2 separate regions of the Homo sapiens genome follow, and region 1 is linked to region 2. The links are contacts of gene promoters, found by promoter capture Hi-C in blood cells and fetal thymus (Javierre and others, 2016). All regions are on one chromosome and are shown on one strand. Each heading gives the region's core, a stretch centred on a gene start or on the middle of the fragment in contact. The rest is flanking DNA. Distances are from core to core; before and after follow the strand shown.

The links. Contacts are between HindIII fragments. The CHiCAGO score rates a contact against its expected background, and 5 or more counts as called.
Region 1: a contact is called between a fragment that was not itself captured here and the fragment with the promoter of BCL2L15 in region 2, in 1 of 17 cell types (erythroblasts). The highest score is 5.7, in erythroblasts.

The regions. Positions count from the first base shown.
Region 1 is chr1:113,117,267-113,120,962 of GRCh38, reverse strand. It overlaps LRIG2 (leucine rich repeats and immunoglobulin like domains 2), which reads right to left. Exons shown (of 18, transcript NM_014813.3): 17 at 1,440-1,730. Among named protein-coding and RNA genes, the nearest start is that of LRIG2, 46 kb to the right of the region's middle. The HindIII fragment of the contact is 1,406 bases long and covers 1,178-2,583 here.
Region 2 is chr1:113,885,902-113,889,602 of GRCh38, reverse strand. It overlaps BCL2L15 (BCL2 like 15), which reads left to right and starts at 2,022. Exons shown (of 4, transcript NM_001010922.3): 1 at 2,022-2,354; 2 at 2,945-3,066. The coding sequence starts at 2,228. The region is part of intron 3 of AP4B1-AS1 (AP4B1 antisense RNA 1); the gene reads right to left. The HindIII fragment of the contact is 1,067 bases long and covers 1,680-2,746 here.

The DNA.
Region 1 (3,696 bases), core at 631-3,130, 770 kb after region 2:
CCTGTAATCCCAGCTACTCAGGAGGCTGAGGCAGGAAAATCGCTTGAACCTGGGAGGCAGAGGTTGCAGTGAGTTGAGATCACGCCACTGGACTCCAGCCTGGGCAACAGGGCTAGACTCCATCTCAAATAAAAAAAAAAAAACTTCTCAGTAGGCCGGGCACAGTGGCTCATGCCTGTAATCCCAGCACTTTGGGAGGCCAAGGTGGGTGGCTCACCTGAGGTCGGGAGTTTGAGACCAGCCTGACCAACATGGAGAAACCCCATCTCTACTAAAAATAGAAAATCAGCTGGGCATGGTGGCACATGCCTGTAATCCCAGCTACTCAGGAGGCTGAGGCAGGAGAATTGCTTGAACCCGGGAGGCGGAGGTCCTGGTAAGCCGAGATGGCATCATTGCACTCCAGCTTGGGAAACAAGAGCGAACCTCCATTTCCCAAAAAAAAAAAAAAAAAAAATCTTCTCAGTAAAAACCATCACCAAATTATGCCCAAATTTTATTATTACTATTTTTTGGAGACAGAGTCTCACTCTGTTGCCCAGGCTGGAGTGCAGTGGCACGATCTCAGCTCACTGCAACCTCCATCTCGAGCTTAAGTGATTCTCGTGCCTCAGCTTCCCGAGTAGGTGGGACTACAGGCATGCACCACCATGTTAGGCTAATTTTTGTATTTTTAGTGGAGACAGGGTTTCCCTATGTTGGCCAGGCTGGTCTCAAACTCCTGACCTCAAATGATCCACCTGCTTTGGCCTCCGAAAGTGCTAAGATTACAGGCGTGAGCCACTGTGCCCGGCCCCCCATATTTTATTCTTTTATTTAAATAAAGATCGGAGAAAAATTAATACCCTATATGATACCGGGTGCGGTGGCTCACACCTGTAATCTCAGCACTTTGGGAGGCCAAGGCAGGCAATCACATGAGGTCAGGAGTTCATGACCAGCCTGGCCAACATGGTTAAACCCCACCTCTACTAAAAATACAAAAATTAGCTGGGTGTGGTGGTGCACGCCTGTAGTCCCAGCTTCTTGGGAGGCTGAGGCATGAGAATTGCTTGAACCAGGGAGGCAGAGGTTGGCATGAGCCAAGATTGCACCACTACATTCCAACCTGGATGACACAGTGATACTCTGTCTCAAATAAATAAATAAATAGCCTGTATGAAACCTTTTAAAAGCTTTTTGTGTATGGCCTCTGAATTTTCAGTAGTGTGATCCTGTTACCCCCACAAAAGTTGTTTCCATCCTATAGATGAAGACTTCTTTGTAACTCTAGTATGCAGAAATCTCTGGCTATAGTTTATACCATTTAACAATGGCCAGTTACTCCTATATACCCATCTGCTTGCTTCCTGTCAAATGAGAGCACTACCTATATGATAGAAGGAAGAGTCAATTAGACGAAAGTAAAAACAAAATAACAACAAAAATACATCCCTTACCACCGCTCATCTGTGTGGAGGGAAGTTTCTTCTCACTTATCCTCTCATGGTTGGTGGGAAAGGCAGATGGCTCTCTGTTGGCTGACGGTATCAGGCTCTCTAGGGCAGTAGTATCCTGGGGAGGATGTACTAAATATGTCTCTTTAGGCATTTGGACCATGAGGCTGGACAGTGTCTGATCAAGAACGTCCTCCTCAGCAATATAGGTGTATGGACAGTATTCTCGGGTCCTGGAGTAGATGTTGGCATTGTCATAACAATCTGAGCAAATCACCCGGGTACCAGTGCCACCTAATAACAAGAAAAAGAATCTAAATATCTTTCTGTTAAGGAATTATTTTTTGCCAATCGTCAGTTTTCTTCAAAAGTTGTCATCATCATTGCTAGCATGTATTGAGCACTTACTTTATAAAGTAGGTGAAGTTTCAAGCCATTTCTGTGAATTGATTCATTAATCCTCACAACATCCCTATGAGGTAGGTATTATTATTATCCCCACTTTACAGATAGGGTAAACTAAAGCACAGAGAAGTTAAGTAACTTAACCAAAGTCATACCGCTACCGGGTGCGGTGGCTCACGCCTGTAATCCCAGCACTTTGGGAGGCCGAGGCGGGCAGATCACAAGGTAAGGAGATCTAGACCATCCTGGCTAACACGGTGAAACCCCATCTCTACTAAAAATACAAAAAATTAGCCAGGCGTGGTGGCGTGCACCGGTAGTCCCAGCTACTCGGGAGGCTGAGGCAGGAAGATGGCGTGAACCCGGGAGGCGGAGCTTGCAGTGAGCCGAGATCACGCCACTGCACTCCAGCCTGGGCGACACAGCGAGACTCTGTCTCCAAAAAAAAAAAAACAAAGTCATACTGCCAGAGTGAGGAGCAGAAACAGCCATTCTGGCTCCAGAGCCCATGCTCTTGAAAACTACACTGAACCATCTCTGTCTATTGTGGATAGACAGATCATGCCCAAATCAAGGGAGCAAGATAAGGCTGGTACTGTGCTACAAGACACATGCTTGGCTTAAGCAAACTAAGTCAGAGAATAAGGAGTTATGATGACTTCACTTCATGAAAAACCATGTTACTTTAATGAGTCAAGAGGTTAAGTAACACCAATTGCTACAAGCATCCCTAGGGAAAGCTTCTGACAATGAGAAGTCCTGCCTGACAAGTACATGGTTGACAGAAGTATAGGTTTAACAATGAACTCCCTGGATTATTATGTGCTTTGAAAACTGAATGATGAAGGAGAGAAGAGAGAGTGAGAAATAAAGAGTGAGTTACTTATTCAAAATCATGCAACAGGCCAGGAGCAGTGGCTCATGCCTGTAAGCCCAGCACTTGGGGAGGCCGAGGCAGGTGGATCACCTGAGGTCCGAAGTTTGAGACCAGCCTGGCCAATATGGTGAAACCCCATCTCTACTAAAAATACAAAATAAGCCGGGCATGGTGACAGGTGCCTGTAATCCCAGCTACTCAGGAGGCTGAGGCAGGAGAATCGCTTGAACCGGGGAGGCAAAGGTTACAGTGAGCTGAGATGGTGCCATTGCACTCCAGCCTGGGTGACAAGAATGAAACTCTGTCTCAAAAAAACCAAAAAACAAACAAAAAAAAATCATGCAACAGAATGTTAGAATTGGAAGAGAGTGAAAAGTAATTTAGTTTAACCCAGAAAGCAGTGTTATTTCCCACATACTTCAAAGAACAGACTTTTAAGTATTCTTTTAAAAGTCAGAAATGCCAGCCAGGTGCGGTGGCTCATGCCTGTAATCCCAGCACTTTGGGAGGCTGAGGCAGGCAGATCACAAGGTCAGCAGTTCAAGACCAGCCTGACCAACATGGTGAAACCCGTCTCTACTAAAAATACAAAAATTAGCCGGGTATGGTGGCACGCACCTGTAATCCCAGCTACTTAGGAGGCTGAGGCAGAGGAATCGCTTGAACCTGGGAGGTGGAGGTTGCAGTGAGCTGAGATCGTGCCACTGCACTCCAGCCTGGGTAACAGAATGAGACGCTTTCTCAAAAACAAAAAAAAGAGTCAGAACTACTATATTTTTCATGAAAAGCCAAAATCCAATTTATCAATTAGATAAAGTTCTGTTGACACCCAGCCTAAAAAAGTCTCTGAAGAAATGGAATAAATCTTCCATTTGTATAGTATTTGAAGTACCACACAGATTTGCTGAAAAGATCTGTGAGAATCTTGGGGGAAGTGCTTTACAAATTATTGTCTCTTTATTTAAAAATTAGAAAAGT
Region 2 (3,701 bases), core at 773-3,272:
CCCAAAGTCCAATTACCACCCAAATTCCTCCTCATCTTTTCATGGCCTGATCTTTTTTTTTGAGACACAGTCTTGCTCTGTCACCCAGGTTGGAGTGCCATGGTGCCCTCTCAGCTCACTGCAAACTCCGCCTCCCAGGTTCAAGCAATTCTCCTGCCTCAGCCTCCTGAGTAGCTGGAATTACAGGCGTGAGCCACCGCGCCCAGCCAGCTCATTTCTTTTTAGCACTAAATAATGTCTATTGTCTGTATGTATCACAGTTTATTTATTCATTTACCTACTGAAGGACATATTGGTTGCTTCCAAGTTTGGGCAGTTATGAATAAAGCTGCTATAAACAACCATGTGCAAGTTTTTGTGTAGATAAGTTTTCAGCTCCTTTGGGTAGATACCAAGGAGTATAATTGCTAAATCATATGGTAAGAGGATGTTTAGTTTTGTGAGAAACTGCTAAACTCTTCCAAAGTGGCTGTACCATTTTGCATTCCTACCAGCAATGAATGACAGTTCCTGACCCACATCCTCACCAGCATTTGGTTTTGCCAGTGTTCTGGATTTTGGCCATTTTAATAGGTGTGCAGTGGTTGTATGTGTTTTAGAATGGAACAGAAAACACAAGATTGGCTTTGATATTTTGCAAGATAGAAATTCCATTCTGAACAACTGACTTACTGTTTATGCTTGAATCTTTTTTTGTTTTTTTTTTTTTTGGAGACAGAGTCTTGCTCTGTCACCCAGGCTGGAGTGCAGTGGCGTAATATCGACTCATCGCAACCTCCGCCTCCCAGGTTCAAGCGATTCTCATGCCTCAGCCTCCTTAGTAGCTGGGATTACAGGCATGCACCACCACGCCCAGTTCATTTTTGTATTTTTTAGTAGAGATGGGTTTTGCCATGTTGGCCAGGCTGGTCGTGAACTCCTGACCTCCGGTTATCTGCCCGCCTCAGCCTCCCAAAAGTGCTGGGATTACAGGTATGAGCCACCATGCCCGGCCTATGCTTGACTCTTTTATTAGTTGGAGCTGTTAATATTAATAACTTCACCAGGTCAGACAGGTTGAGTGGTAAGTTTGCTGATAGGTTTGATGGCTGCTTCTGAGACCCAGACCCAAAATCTAGGTTTAGCTACGTTAAGAAGGCAACCACTACAGATAAGTGTCCAATCATGAGATCTCTTAAAACAATGATGGAGTCCAACCCTGTTAGGAAAATCCTTTTGCTAGACAGAGAATCTCAGATCTCTTTCCTCCTGGTCATTATGTCTTGGGCTAAAAGGAGGACATTTAACATTTATTGTATGCCAAACAGTGCTAGGCCATTCCGCATGTTATCTTATTTAATCCTCATAATTTATCTATGAAATATTTTCTGTTGTCCCCATTTATAATTCCAAGTTGTTTTTTTTTAACCTTCCCAGACTTTATATCTGCTACCTCTCCGCCTAGAATAGTGTTATGCCTCCTTTTTGCATAATGAATGCCTACTTATTCCTCAGAGCTCATGTCAGATGGTACTATTTTAAGGAAGCCTTCCCAGTCCCCTAGGTTTGTTTCCCTATTAAACTGATCAAAGGCTTGATTCCCTGTTACACTTCACTGATCAAAGTGCACTGATCTCAATAGCACAAATAACAATGCGATTACTCATTTAATATCTGTCATTTCTGCTGAAGTGTAAGCTTCATGAGCACAGTAACTGTGCCTGTATCATTTTTCTATGTTACTTGTAGTGCCAACTATAGTTCCTTGTTCAGTAAGTAATTATTATATGATTATGGCAAATAAATTCCATAAACAGAAGTTGAACGCTGGTCCACTGTAACTTCAAAACCTTCCTTCAAATTATACCATGTGCAGGACCTAAGAAGTCGAGGAAGTATTTCTTAATAAAATTACTCCAGAGGCTCTTCCTGAACTCTATTTCAGTTCTAGGTTGGCTACCTAACGATAAAAGTTAAGCATTAATTTTATGTGGTTAGGGTGTGGTCTGAGATAGAGAACCTAAAGTCTTTAAAGTCTCCCCAGTTCCAAGTAGGTAATCCTTCTGAGAAGTCCCACCTTTCTGAGCAGCTGTGTTTGAAGAAAGCTAGTGGGAAAAGTTCCAGGATTACATGTCAGGAAACTACAAGAGGTAGAAACATTTGTTGATTTACCAGTGTTTTTAACTTCCTGCTGGGCTGAAAACTGCTTGTTTCGTGGAAAAGCAAAACTTGACAGCAAACATCTAAAATGAAGAGCTCCCAAACTTTTGAGGAACAAACGGAATGCATTGTGAACACTCTACTCATGGACTTCTTGAGCCCAACATTGCAGGTTGCCAGCCGGAACCTATGCTGTGTAGATGAAGTAGATTCAGGTAAGGTTCCTGCCCTAGGCGGTGATTGCAGGTCAATAAGAGTATGTTTTCAGCCGGGCGCAGTGACTGATTCCCGTAATCCCAGCACTTTGGGAGGCCAAGGTGGGTGGATCACCTGAAGTCAGGGGTTTGAGATCCGCCTGGCCAACGTGGTGAAACCCCATCTCTACTAAAAGTAGAAAAATTAGCCAGGTGTGGTGGCTCATGCCTGCAGTCCCAGCTACATGGGAGACTGAGGCATGAGAATTGCTTGAACCTGGGAGGCGGAGGTTGCAGTGAGCTGAGATCACGCCACTGCACTCCAGTCTGGGCGACAGAGACTCGGTCTCAAAAAAAAAAAAACAGTATATTTTATTTATTTCCTTTAAGTTTCAAAAGGCAAACTCTAAGCTTTCAGTAACACCTAAAGCGAAAGAGGTTCTCAATGAAGGGAAACTTTCTGACTATTGGTGTTGACAGAACATTTAAGCTCTTGGGAGATCATGATATGAAAATTATTTAAAAGACAAGACAAATTTTTCTCATTGCCCAGATTCCTGGGACTTGCCATTGCTTCAAGCATTGTAACAAATGTGTTCCCTCTGTCATAGGAGAGCCTTGTTCTTTTGATGTGGCTATCATTGCTGGTCGCCTTCGGATGTTGGGTGACCAGTTCAACGGAGAATTGGAAGCTTCTGCCAAAAACGTCATTGCAGAAACCATTAAGGGACAGGTCAAGTTTCTACTTCATGCTATTGTTTGCTGCTTTTTTTTCTATTTCAAACTTCCTTTTCTTACTACTCCCATACTACAGTGACTAGGAATGTTCTATGAAAATATTTGGGTGCTTATATTTCAAGGAAGTATAGCAAGAATTCTCCAATTGCTAAAACCTAAGTGGTACAGAGATGGAAAATTTTGGGCATAGGCTGATGAACCTTCAGTTTGTCTCTACTTGGTCTTCATCACAGCTGTTGTGCTTAGTGTGCACAGAGCACATTTATAACACTTTATTCTTGGCAAAGTATAGTATCTTTTTTTTTTTTTTTTTTTTCAGACAGGGTCTTACTGTGTCACCCAGGCTCAAGTGCAGTGGTGTGATCTCAGCTCACTGCAGCCTCCACCTCCTGGGCTCAAGCGATCCTCCCACTGCAGCCTCCTGAGTAGCTGGGACTTCAGGCAAGTGCTACCATGCCCATCTATTTTTTTTATTTTTTTATTTTTAGTAAAGATGGGTTTTTGCCATGTTGCCCGGGCTGGTCTTGAATGCCTAAGCTCAGGTGATCCACTCACCTCGGCCTCCCAAAGTGCTGGGATTATAGGCGTGAGCTACCACACCCAGCCTATGCTTTTTTTTTTTGAGATGGA